2 separate regions of the Homo sapiens genome follow, and region 2 is linked to region 1. The links are contacts of gene promoters, found by promoter capture Hi-C in human tissues and cell types (Jung and others, 2019). All regions are on one chromosome and are shown on one strand. Each heading gives the region's core, a stretch centred on a gene start or on the middle of the fragment in contact. The rest is flanking DNA. Distances are from core to core; before and after follow the strand shown.

Region 1 (6,500 bases), core at 438-2,937:
ATATATACACACACACACACACGTATATACACATACACACATACATATACACATATATATGTATATATATGTAAAGGGGAGTTCACTAAGTATTAACTCACATGATCACAAGGTCCTACAATAGGCTGTCTGCAGGCTAAGGAGAGAGGAGAGCCAGTCCGAGTTCTGAAACTGAAGAACTTGGGAATCCAATGTTCGAGGGCAGGAAGCATCCAACACAGGAGAAAGATTTAGGCTGGGAGGCTAGGCCAGTCTCTCTTTTCACATTTTTCTGCCTGCTTATATTCTAGCCAAGCTGGCAGCTGATTAGATTGTGCCCAACCAGATTAAGGGTGGGTCTGCCTTTCGCAGCCCACTGACTCAAATGTTAATCTCCTTTGGCAACACCCTCACAGACACACCAATGATCAATACTTGTATCCTTCAATCCAATCAAGTTGACACTCAGTATTAACCATCACACTTCTCATCCACAAAAGACGGAATGGATCTGTGACCCATTTGTGAATAAGCCAGGTGAATCCACTTTGTCCACGCTAGAAGAGGATCAACTGCTTGATATTGCAAATGACGGTGGCCTTAAAAGTATGTTTGAGACAACTTCAAATCTCCATACGTTCTCGATTAAAGTCAAGGCGGAACATCCTGAGATTGCCACAAAAGTACTGAAAAGCCTCCTTCCATTTTCAACATCCTATCTTTGTGAGGCAGGATTTTCCACAGTAACAGCAACCAAAATGAGATTACAGAATAGACCGGACATAAGGAACACACCTCGGGTGTCACTGTGTCTCATCACCCCCAGATGGGACCATCTAGTTGCAGGAAAACAAGCTCAGGGCTCCCATTGATTCTACATTATGGTGAGTTGTATAATTCTACATAACTATAATGTAATAATAATAGAAATAAAGTGCAGAATAAATGAAATGTGCTTGAATCCTGTAAGTATACACAGTCATATAATTCATATAAGTATATACAACTTAAAACCTGAGGCTTTTAAGTTGAAGGTAAAAACAGGTAAAACATGTTTTTAAAAAACACACAAAATAGTATTTTGCTGTCAATACATAAAGATACATGTAAATGCAAATAAAAAGAATTCAAAGAATACACACCGCATTGCTAATAGTGGAAAGATACCTCCCAGGCGAAAAGAAATGGGACCAAGTATTTCTTCACTATAACTAAAAAAAAAAAAAGTACAATATATCTGTTGTTTGTGAATTTAACTTTTTAAATGAAAACACTAAAAGGACAAAATGGATTAGTTCTTAATATGCTGATCTGTGGTTATGGATGTTGTCTGGTTTGGAGACGTGGATTTACAAGTCATCAGTACATCGGTAAATTGCCCAGGGGAAGAGGAAGGGGGGGAAGGAGCATTAAATGTTACGAAGGCCATGTAAGGTTATTTTCCGGTTTGCAGCATTACAAGCAGCAGTAGGGTTAAGTAACACAGAAACTGTTACGCTCTTGCATGCAGGGTCCCTAGATACGAAGTTCGAATCGATGGAAACGTAGCTCAAAAGGCGACGCCAACACCCCGGAGAAAACACTGAGCTACTCCAACCACAGTGGCGCGCCAAGTAGGAGGCGGTACCTGAGGACCACGCCTGCGCGCGGGGTTACGCAAGCGCGCAGCCTTTGCGCACGCGCACGAACGCACGGCCGCGCAGCATCTGTCTTGCTGGAAGCTTTTTCCTAGAGGTTGAGCGGTTTGCACAATGTCGGAAATGGCTGAGTTGTCCGAGCTGTATGAAGAGAGCAGTGACCTGCAGATGGATGTGATGCCTGGCGAGGGTGACCTTCCGCAGATGGAGGTAGGCAGCGGGAGCCGGGAGCTATCCCTGCGTCCCTCCCGCAGCGGGGCCCAACAGCTCGAGGAGGAAGGCCCAATGGAGGAGGAGGAGGCCCAGCCAATGGCGGCGCCAGAGGGGAAACGGAGCCTTGCTAACGGGCCCAACGCTGGGGAGCAGCCAGGCCAGGTGGCGGGCGCAGACTTCGAGAGCGAGGACGAGGGCGAGGAATTTGATGACTGGGAGGACGACTACGACTATCCCGAAGAGGAGCAGCTCAGTGGTGCCGGCTACAGAGTATCAGCCGCTCTTGAAGAAGCCGACAAGATGTTTCTGAGAACAAGAGAACCAGCCCTGGATGGCGGGTTTCAGATGCATTATGAGAAGACCCCGTTTGATCAGTTAGCTTTTATCGAAGAGCTTTTTTCACTGATGGTTGTCAATCGTCTGACCGAAGAACTCGGCTGTGATGAGATTATTGATAGAGAGTAGTTAGATGCTGTTAAAAGAGGAGGAAACTACTTGAGGAGGGACCCAACTTTCCGCTATCTTTTGGGTTCATTCCAAATAGTTTTGTGCCATTGAAAAACTTGACCTTCAAAAAAATTTGTTTTTCAGAATAGAACACAATAGGACAGTGACTGCACAGTTGTGAAAAAGGAAGAGAATCATTAAAGAAAAAGAAAAAAGATTTTAAGACCGTTGAAATCAATTATCAAGAACGTCCTAAAACACCTATGGCTTTGACTTTGTTATTGATCCAGATTATTTTCCTTGCATTGGGGAAAATATCTTTCATATTTGTTTGCTGTAAAGATGGTTTTGCAAGAATAAGTCATGACCAAGACAAACTGCCAATACAAAAGCCCACTGATACTAATTATATAATGAGAAAAAAATGTATCCAACTAGGACACATATCTTTTGAGTTATTTGGACTGAAAGCTTAAGAAAACTTGGAAAATTCTATTTTGTGATCTAGTCAAGCCACAGTTATCAAAGGCTACATTTTCAGTGTAAGATAAATGGATGAGTAAACTCAAATATGTATCACGTGTGCTTTGTATCTTAAGATGTGTTTCCAAGAGCATCTGAAATTTTGTTTGTACATGTATCTTGATCATTTATAAAGCCACTGTGATCTATAAATCAAGAAAATCCATTGTCATAACCATTTTTAAAAGTCAAAAATTAAGACATCCTTAATTAAAAAGTTTCAAATCTAGACACTAAATGTGTGTGAATGTACAAAGAAAACAAACCATTGCTTATGCTGTTATATACTAGAGAAATTTTGTTTTGCTTGCTGTTTTAACTTGACAGATGAAGGACTTTAGTTGAACTTCATATTGTAAGAACTGTTAATAAAAGTTGTCAAGTAAAAAGCGCTATATCTAAAAAGACTTTATGAACAGTTATTCTATCAACTTTTAAAGGTTTTAAACCTGCCCAGAAATTACCTTGGTATCTGAAGTTTCCCTCTGTCTCCTCCTCTAATTAAGCTTGTTATTTGTCATGCACCAGCATTGGAGATAATAAAATTTCTTGTTCTGTGTATTTTGTTTGGCTAATAGTATTGCATACATACTTTCTCTGTATACTACTTTCTATTGTATGTGTTAACCAGTATTAAGGGAAAATGATCCAGCTTCAGCTATCTAATTCACAAATTAATTTCTGGAAATTAAACTTTGTAAATTAAGTTTTTGCCTATAAGAATTTGCTGGTCTGGGAAAACCTGCCCTATCAATGAGTATGTTGCCGTGGTTACCTTACTAAGATGCTGAAGTTCTAGGAGAGTAATGATTACATCAGAAGGCTAGGTTCAGCAAAATAAGTGTATCAGCAGGTTTTATCATGATCAGTAAAAATGTTCCAAATGCTTCTGCTCCATTATAGCAGTAAAGAACGAATATCCAATGCAACAGGACAATTCAGAGCCTTATTTATTTTATGGTCATCCTGTCTTTTGGGGAGAGAGATCTGTAAAAGATAGGACTGTGACAAGGCTGATCAGAATTGCTCAGACACTAGCTGGGTTAGGAGGGAGAGATGGTGGAAGTAAAATGTTGGTGCTTAGACTTAATCCTACTGCCTCTTCCACTGCTTTCTCAATTAGCGTGCAGCTACGGTCAGATGAGTGTGGATAGGTAATTAATTGCATGGATGATGTAAATTAGTGTGGGTGGGGGTATGCTAGTGCACAATAAACTGGCTGGTTGTATTTACCTCCAGATCTTTATCTTTACCAGGAAAGTTTATCTTTACTAGGAAAGATAAACTCTTGGAAAAAAAAATCTGAGGTCCACAAACTAGAAGGTTGTGATTCTGTTTTTCTCTGGGACTGAGTAGGGCAAAGAGGTGGGGGTGGGAAACACTATTCCATCTGAAGGCCCATCTTGGGGAGAAAAACCTGGGCTCTGCAATTGACTTGGTTGTTTTTCAGTCTTAAAAATAGGCAGTAAGCTGAGAGACAATGAAAATTGTAAATACTTACTTGTATTTATTGAGGATAGAAAACATTTTAACACCCCTTTTAGGGGTGTAAAATTATTTGTGTTTCTTTTACATGCAGTTGCCACAGACAAACCAGACTACTTGGTTAAAATTTGGGTTCTACTATTTATTAGCTCAGTAACTGGGAAATTAATCTCTCTGGCTCATGTCCTAAACTGAAAATAGGAACAATTGGATGTACCTTACAAATTGTGAGGACTAAATGATGATGTGTGTGAGAGTGTGTGTGTGTGTGTGTGTGTGTGTGTGTGTGTGTGTCTTCATTTAAGGAAGCTAGAGAAAGGAGTTCTGGGGAAATTCTGATTTTGCAAGGTAGGGGATTTAAAGAAGATTTTGAGTACACGGTGTGATTAGGGAGAGTTTTCCAAATTTATCCATACATATTATAAATGTTCGCTTAGATCAGATATCCCATGTTGACTGTCTTCAGGCCACAGATCTATTTTGTTTGGTTCATGCTTATAATTTTAAGAGACCAACATCTCAGTACAGAGACAGCAGCTAAAAATCTAGATTCTTACCTTTTTATTATTATTTTTTTAAAGTAAAAGATCTGGGAGCCTTTGACCTATAGACCTATGTAGCCAACAAACAAACAAAAAAACAAAGCAAAAAAAAAAAAAAACCATCTGATTCACCTTTAGATAAGGAAGATTCTGTTTGCCAAGTCCCTCAGTGTTGTCTCCCCAACACAGAGGCCAGGTAGCACTTGACATTTATCATTGGGCCTGCACCATTGTTTTTTCTTGTGCTTGCACAGCTTGCATTACCTACTTGGCCTCTAAATATCTCAAGTTGCCTCTCCTTGTAGAGACTAAAGGATGTCTCAATTTTTGCCTGTTTTACCTTAACTCTATTACCCTTCTGAATTCAGTACCTGTTAGAGTTGTAGAAATCAGTAAAGAATTAGTGGGAGTGTGAGCAACTGAGACTCTGACTTTGCTTGAGGCCCTAAAATACTATATTAAAGTATGTCAATAAAGTCTGTTGCTTGAATTTTAAAACAAGGAAATACCTATAACTTACCCTTGCAAAAATGTATTCCCATCCTGAAATATGGTAATATTTAAAAATTGCAAGCATCGCATGTTTAATATTTTCTGCCTCTGGAGGTTTGTAAAATATTTTCTGGGAATGAATTGTTATATTCTTGATGTTCTCAGTGGCCAAAGATAAATGTGAACTATCCGTTCCATAAATGCTATCATCTATGAATATATCCATAAATTTGAACCTTTGTTTTCAGTCCAAAGCATATCTTAGAAATTAAGTGGGGATGGGGAAGGCATTAGTATTTCTTTGTATTTATTTTAGAACTTCCAGTGGTAGCATTAAGGATTTAATTAATCCTTTTCTTGTGCTGTATCCACAAGGTCTCTCATCTTTGCTGCCTTCATTTCTTAAACATTTTAGTTGCCTTTCTCATGGGAAATAAAGCTTCTTGAGTTGAGGCCTCTACAGTGGCACATCTCTCCCCCATATCCCCCAGCCATTTCCCCTAGGCCTGCAGGAAAGCTCAAAATAGTTATTAAAAATCAGCCCTCAGGTCTGAGATAAATGAGATCTTAACTTTGGTCCCCACTCTAGCAGTGGGCTGAATACAACCCATTCCATGCCACCAGTGCAGAAAAGCTATGGATTACTTTCAAAGGCACATCATATTACTATAGTTACTGGTAATGAAAACCACCCGTTATCCTCACCTCTGTTTTGCCTGAAAGATTATGGATGGGTAGTAATACTTTGCCCTAAAGAAGGGTACTGAAGGGGAAAGAGAGGCTGAGAATAAACTCTGCCCCACCACATATACCACAATCCCATTCATAAATTCCTTATTCATTTCAGACACCCCACAGAAAGGGCCATCTTAAAAAATGATCATAGATTCTACCCAAAAGGCTGTCATTATGATGGCTTCAGCTTTGCCTACTCTTCCTCCCTTACAAAACTCTGAGATAACCCGAGGGCTCCTTTACTTAGTGAGATCTCATAACTAAAAGCATTGAGCTTGCGTGGTACCATCCATGTGAATGAAAACTGAAAATAAATTTTGCATCTACATATGTATTGAAGTCAAAATGTCAGAATGACTGAATGAATGTTTCACCACCCACATGTGTCTTCCAAGTGCAGCCCAAAATGTTATGCTCTCATGATACCAATGGTATCACCACTCTTGGA
Region 2 (6,792 bases), core at 1,876-4,375, 340 kb after region 1:
CTCCATGATTCAATCAACACCCACCAGGCTTCACTTCCAGCATTAGGTATTACATTTCACCATGAGATTTGGGTGGGGACACAGATCCAAGCCATATCATATGGGTCTAGGCATTGATCCCTTTCTTCTTGGTTTTCTAATTTGTTGGTATATAGTTGCTCATAATAGTCTCTAATGATGCCTTGACTCTCTGCTATCAGTTATAATATCTTTAAAAAAAATTATCTGACTTTATTTATTTGAATCTTCTTTATTTTTTACTTTTTCTTTTTTGTTTGAAATGGAGTCTCGCTCTGTTGCCCAGGCTGGAGTGCAGTGGCGCTATCTCAACTCACTGCAACCTCCACCTCTCAGATTCAAGTGATTGTCCTGCCTCAGCCTCCCGAGTAGCTGGGATTACAGGTGTCCACGACCATGCCTGGATAATTTTTGTATTTTTAGTAGAGATGGGGTTTCACCCTGTTGGCCAGGCTGGTCTTGAACGCCTGGCCTTGTGATCTGCCCACCTTGGCCTCCCCTCCCAAAGTGCTGGGATTACAGGTGTGAGCCAGTGCACCTGGCCTCTTTTTTACTTAGTGTGGCTAAAGGTTTTTTGATTTAGTTTATGTTTGCAAAACACCAACTTTTAATTTCATTGATTTTTTTTTGTAGTTTTAAATTTCAATTTTACTTATTTTTGCTCTGATCCGAATTCTTTTCCTCTACTAATTCTGCATTTCATTTGCTTTTGCCTTTCTCATTTGTTAAGATTCATCTTTAGGTTGCTTATTTGACATATTTCTACCTTTTTGATGTAGGTGTTTATTGTTTTAAATGTGCTTTTTTGTACTGCTCTTTCTGTATCATGGAGATTTTGATCTGTTGTCTTTTCACTCCCAATTGTTTCATGAAATTTAAAAATTTCTTAATTTTTTCATTGGCCCACTGGTCATTCAGGAGCATATTTTTTACTTTCCAAGTGTTTGCTTAGTTTCCAAAGTTTTTCTTCATGTTTATTTCTAATTTTATTTCATTATGATCAGAGAAGTTACTTGATATTATTTTAACTTTTTTGAACTTTTTGAGACTTGTTTTGTGGTCTAACTTAAGATCTATCCTGGAGAATATTCTGGGCACTGATGAGAAGAATGTGTATTCTGGGGCTGTTGGATGGAATGTTTTTATAAATATCCATTTGTTCTATAGTGCAGATTAAGTCTGATGTTTCTTTGTTGATTTTCTCCCTGGATAAATACCCTAGGGCTGAAAGTGAGGTTTTGAAATCCCCAGCTATTATTCTATAGGCATCTATCCTTCTTTTTAGTTTTAATAATATTTGTTTTACATATCTGAGTGCTCCAGCATTGGGTGCACATATATTTACAATTGTTATATCCTGTTGCTGAACTGACTCCTTTGACATTATATAATGACCTTCGTCTCTTTTTATAGTTTTTATCTTGAATCCTGTTTATTTATGCATAACTACTCTTGCTCTCGTTTGGTTTTCATTTGTATGGAGTATCTTTTTCTTTTTTAAAAAATTTTACTTTAAGTTCTGGGATATAAATGCAGAATGTGTAGGTTTGATACCTAGGTATACGTGTGCCATGGTGGTTTGCTGCACCTGTCAACCCATTGTCTAGGTTTTAAGCCCCGCATGCATTAGCTATTTGTCCTAATGCTCTTCCTCCCCTTCCCCTCCACCCCACAATTGGCCCTGGTGTGTGTTCCGGAATATCTTTTTCTATTTTATTTTATTTTTTTTGGTCTGCATGTCTTTATTGATGAGGTTAGCTTATTGTTTTTGTTTTTATAATCCATTCATCCACTTTGTCTTTTATTGGGAATTTAGTCCATTTATATTCGATGTTATAGTTATAAGGTACAGACTTACTACTGCCATTTTGTTATTTATTTTCTGGTTGTTTTGTTGGTCCTCTCTTCCTTCCTTCTTGTCTTCCTTTGTGTAAAAGTGACTTTTTCTGACAATGTTTTAATTTATTATTTAAAACTTTTTTTGGGCTGGGCATGGTGCCTCACGCCTGTAATCCCAGCACGTTGGCAGGTGGAGGCGGGTGGATCATGGGGTCAGGAGATCGAGACCATCATGGCTAACACGGTGAAACCCCATCTCTACTAAAAAATAAAAAAAGATTTAGCTGGGCATGGTGGCGGGTGCCTGTAGTCCCAGCTACTCAGGAGGCTGAGGCAGGAGAATGGCATGAACCCGGGAGGTGGAGCGTGCAGTGAGCTGAGATCATGCCACTGCACTCCAGCCTGGGCGACCGAGCAAGAGTCTGTCTCAAAAACAAACAAACAAAAAAACCCAACTTTTTTTGTATCTGTTACAGGTTTTTGTTTTGTGGTTACTGTGAGGCTTGCAAATAACATAACCAATTATTTTAAGCAGATGACAGCTTAACTCTGATTACAATGAAAATAAAAAAGAAATCAGCAAAAAGAAAACAAAAAAACCCCCCAAAACTTTACCTTAACCCCATTTCTTCACTTTGTCACTTTTTTTTTTTTTTTTTGAGATGGAGTCTCACTCTGTCACCCAGGCTGGATACAGTGGCGTGATCTCGGCTCACTTCAACCTCTGCCTCCCGGGTTCAAGCGATTCTCCTGCCTCAGCCTCCCAAGTAGCTGGGACTACAGGCACCTGCCACCACACCCGGCTATTTTTTTTTTTTTTTTTGTATTTTTAGTAGAGATGGGGTTTCACCATGTTAGCCAGGATAGTCTTGATCTCCTGACCTCGTGATCTTCCTGCCTTGTCCTCCCAAAGTGCTAGGATTACAGGCTTGAGCCACCATGCCCGGCTGCTTTGTCACTTTTGATTGTCTCTGTTTATATCTTTTTATGCTCAGAAAGCTGTTTCAGTTACTATTTTTGATAGGTTTGTCTTTTAATCTTCCTACTAAGATATGAGTGTTTTAACACTATAGTTACAGTGTTAGAGTATTCTGTATTCATTCATCTGTTCATTTACCACTACCAGTGAGTTCTGTACCACCATGTGATATATATTTTTTTACATTAATGTGCTTTTCTTTCAGATTGAATAACTCTCTTTAACATTTTTTGCAAGACAGGTCTGGTGTTGTTGAAACCCCTCAGCTGTGTTTGTCTGGGAAAGTATTTCTCTTTCATGTTTGAAGGATAATTTTACTGGAAATAATATTCTAGTTCAAAAGTTGTTTTTCTTCAACACTTTGAATATGTCATCCCCCTCTCTCTTGGCCTCTAAGTTTCCTGCGGAGTTGTCTCCTACTAGACATATTGGAGCCCCTTTATATGTTCTTTGCTTCTTTTCTTTTTCTGCTTTTAGGATACTTTCTTTATCCTTGACCTTTGAGAGTTTGATTAATATATTAACTGAGTTAGTCTTATTTGGGTTGAATCCTTTTGGTGTTGTGTGATCTTCTTATACCTTAATATTTATATCTTTTCTTAGGTTTGGAAAGTTTTCTATCAGTATTTCACTGAATAAACTTTCTACCCTGATCTCTCTATCTCTACATCCTCTTTAAAGCCAATAACTCTTAGATTTGCCCCTTTTAGGCTATTTTCTAGATCTTGTAGAGAGGCTTCATTCTTTTAAAATTATTTCTCTTTTCTCTCCTCTGACTGTGTATTTTTATATAGCCTGTCTTCAGGTTCACTATTTATTTTTCTTGATCGATTCTGCTGTTGAGAGACTCTGAGACATTTTTGAGTTTGCCAGTTGAATTTTTCAGCTGCAGAATTTCTGTTTGAAATTTCAAAAACTATTTTAATCTCTTTGTTAAATTTCTCTGGTAGAATAATGAATTTCTTCCCTGTGTTATCTTTAAGTTTGTTGAGCTTCCTCAAGACAGTTCTTTTGAATTCTCTGTCTGAAAGGACATACATCTCCATCTTTCTGGGATTGGTCACTGGTGTCTTCTGTAGTTCATTTAATGAGGTCATGTTTTCCTGGATACTCTTGATGCTTGTGGACATTCATCACTTATGGGCATTGACAAATTAGATATTTATTTGTCTGTGTAGTCTGGGCTTGTTTGTACCCTTCATTCTTGAGAAGGCTTTTCATGTATTCAAATGGGATTGAGTGTGTTGTGCTCTAAGCCTGTGGTCCGTATGGGCATATCGGCACAAGGAGGTGCTCTAAGCCCAGGAATGCTGCAATTCTTCCTGACATCTAGAGGCACTGCCTTGACGAGTTTGGGTAAGGTAAAGGAGAATTCCCTGGGTTGTCAGGCAAAGTCCTCTTGATATCTTCCCTTTACTCCTCCCAGTCAGAAGTAGTCTGTCTCCATACTGGGCTGCCTAGAGCACTTCCATGGCTTCCACAGCTGGCACTGTGCTAGGTCACACCTGAAGCCTGTATAATACTGGATCTTGCCTGGTTACTGCTGATGTTTATTCAAGGCCCAAGGGATCTTTAGTGAGCAGGTGAATCCTGCCAAGACTGGGTTCTTCTCTTCAGGGCAGTGGATTCCCTCTGAATGAGAGTGGGTCCAGGAACTAAGTCCTGGAATTGACAGCTTCAGGAATCTCCTTGGTGCTTTACTTCGACTGAGCTGGTACCCAAATTGCAAGACAGTCTTCTGTACTCTTCCCACTTCTTTCCTTAAGCTAAAGGAATCTCTCCCCAAACTGCACTTCCTGGAGTTGGGTGCAGTGCGATCAGGCACTCCCCTGGCTGCCACAGCTGGTGTCACACTTGGTCACACATCACAAGTCTACTGCCTCCAAGGCCGGTGCAGTACCAGGGCTTGCCCGAGGACTGCAGTACTTGTGGCCTGACAGCCACTTAAGCTTATTCTGGGCACTAGGCCAGTTTAGTTAGCCAGAGGTGAGGTTGGTTGGGACTCAGGTTCCTCCTGCTGAGATTGAGAATTCTGTCTTGCCCAGGGCTGATCTAAATGCCCCCTCCTTGGGTGCTAGCAGAGTTCTGCTGTTTTGTGTTTTTCTGTAACATGGCTGCACTAAGTTCCAGTGCAAAGACCCACACTCACTTCACCCTCCCTCCCCCAAACACAGTTTCTCTGTCCATGCTGGAAGGGATCCTGTAGGCAATGCAAGACTGTCTTTCCTGTCCTCTTCAATTCCTCTATCCCTGATGTTATGTTAAAACCAGGTACTGTGATTTTCAGGTACTCACCTGAATTTTCTGGGTTCTTATGAAGGTGTTTATTGCATAGATAGTTGCTCAATTTGGTGTAAGATCATGGAAGGGTTCTATTTGGCCATCTTGCTCTGCTTCCCTTTATTTTTATTTACTGTTAAAACCTGGCTCATGGTCAGTTTTTTCCTGTATGTAAACTTTCTTGAGGTGCTTTTGTTTTATATATTAGCAATGATTAAAAAAGCTTTCTCTTTTTTCTAGGAGAGCATATAGATTATTGTGGATATTCTGTTCTTCCTATGGCTGTAGAACAAGATGTGCTAATAGCTGTAGAACCTGTGAAAACGTACGCTCTCCAACTGGCCAATACAAATCCCTTGTATCCGTGAGTATTTAAAATTGTTAGTGTGTGTGTATGTATGGTTCTGTTTGTACCCAAATGAACTCTTTAGGAGACATCAAATTTGTAACAGGTCATTTAACTTATTGATATTTTGTGTCTGACATTAAAAAAATTCTAAGGCCATTATTTATTGTTCATTTTGTTCATTTGTCAATTCATTTAAGGAATATTTATCAAAGACTTATCATGTGCTAGACATAGTCTTAGATACCAGGTGATACAAAGATAAATAACTCTGTCCTTGTCCGATAGGTACTTATCATCTATTGATCTAATTATCTCCAGCAAAGTCAGGTCTGATGTTTTCCTATGTTACTATGGCACCTTCTAAGTATCTTGTCATAGCATATTATTATGCTGTATTATTATTATCTGTTTATTTACCTGTGTCACCCAGTAGACTGTAAACTCTGTGACTTCAGGCATTGTTGCCTCTCTTCTTCAATGCCCTAGCATATAAAACAGAGTCTGGTGCCTAATAGAGGTAAGTTTCTAGTACATATGCTTTATCAAGTTAACAAAGTCTTTAAAAAAAATCTTAGTTTGCTAAGATTAAAAAAGTTTACTAATGGGTATTGAATTTAATTAAATGTCTATTTAGAATTGAAGATCAGTTTTTTTAAAAATATGGTGAATTAGTCTGACGAATTTTCTAATGTTGAGCCCTTTTTGCATTTCTGGGATAAACTCTACTTGCTTCTAATGTATTATAATGGATTTGACTTGATAATTACAGAAAAAGATTTTGGCTTGTATTTGGCATATTATATGTTTGGCTTGTTCATTGGTTAGTTTATCTGCAATAACATTCATGTATTCGGAAAATATTTTTGATAAGACTCTATACCAGTTTGTGCAAGACGTAGAAGTTTTTTACTTTTATATGGAACTTACTGTAGAAGATCTTTTTTTCCTTTTCATTTCGCATGTTTGATAATATATCTTGTGTGCATTTTGGACCCTTGAAAAGCTCACATTATGTCAAGCATATTTTCGTGTCATTGTGTATGAACATTTAAAAATCGGTGCATAGTATTTTGTCATCTTGATTTAGTAAAATTTACTTAATCATTCCCACAATAATGAATATGTGGTTTCAGTTTCGTTTTTCACAAAAGTAGATCCTGAGACAGACCTGGATGAAGGTAGTATATTTGAGAAATGGTCCCAGGAGCAGTAGGAAAGAGCATGAAGAATGAGTTGGGCAATTAGAGGTGAATTATCAAGACATATAGTCCCTGCTAGAGGCAGGAGGCTTGATTCTACCAGGACCCCTAGGAAGCATGCAGTATGC

Evidence for each region. The method cuts DNA at HindIII sites, captures the fragments that hold promoters and counts their contacts. A contact is called where the count stands out against the background at its distance.
Region 2: a contact is called between a fragment that was not itself captured here and the fragment with the promoter of EID1 in region 1, in 1 of the 25 tissues and cell types used here (dorsolateral prefrontal cortex).

The regions. Positions count from the first base shown.
Region 1 is chr15:48,876,447-48,882,946 of GRCh38, forward strand. It overlaps EID1 (EP300 interacting inhibitor of differentiation 1), which reads left to right and starts at 1,688. Exons shown (of 1, transcript NM_014335.3): 1 at 1,688-3,727. The coding sequence starts at 1,731. The coding sequence ends at 2,294. All of the region lies in intron 4 of SHC4 (SHC adaptor protein 4), which reads right to left. RefSeq lists enhancers at 1,263-1,372, 1,643-1,942. The HindIII fragment of the contact is 3,865 bases long and covers 1-2,223 here.
Region 2 is chr15:49,211,834-49,218,625 of GRCh38, forward strand. GALK2 (galactokinase 2) reads left to right here. Exons shown (of 10, transcript NM_002044.4): 3 at 5,357-5,480. Among named protein-coding and RNA genes, the nearest start is that of GALK2, 45 kb to the left of the region's middle. RefSeq lists a silencer at 1-66. The HindIII fragment of the contact is 3,874 bases long and covers 1,189-5,062 here.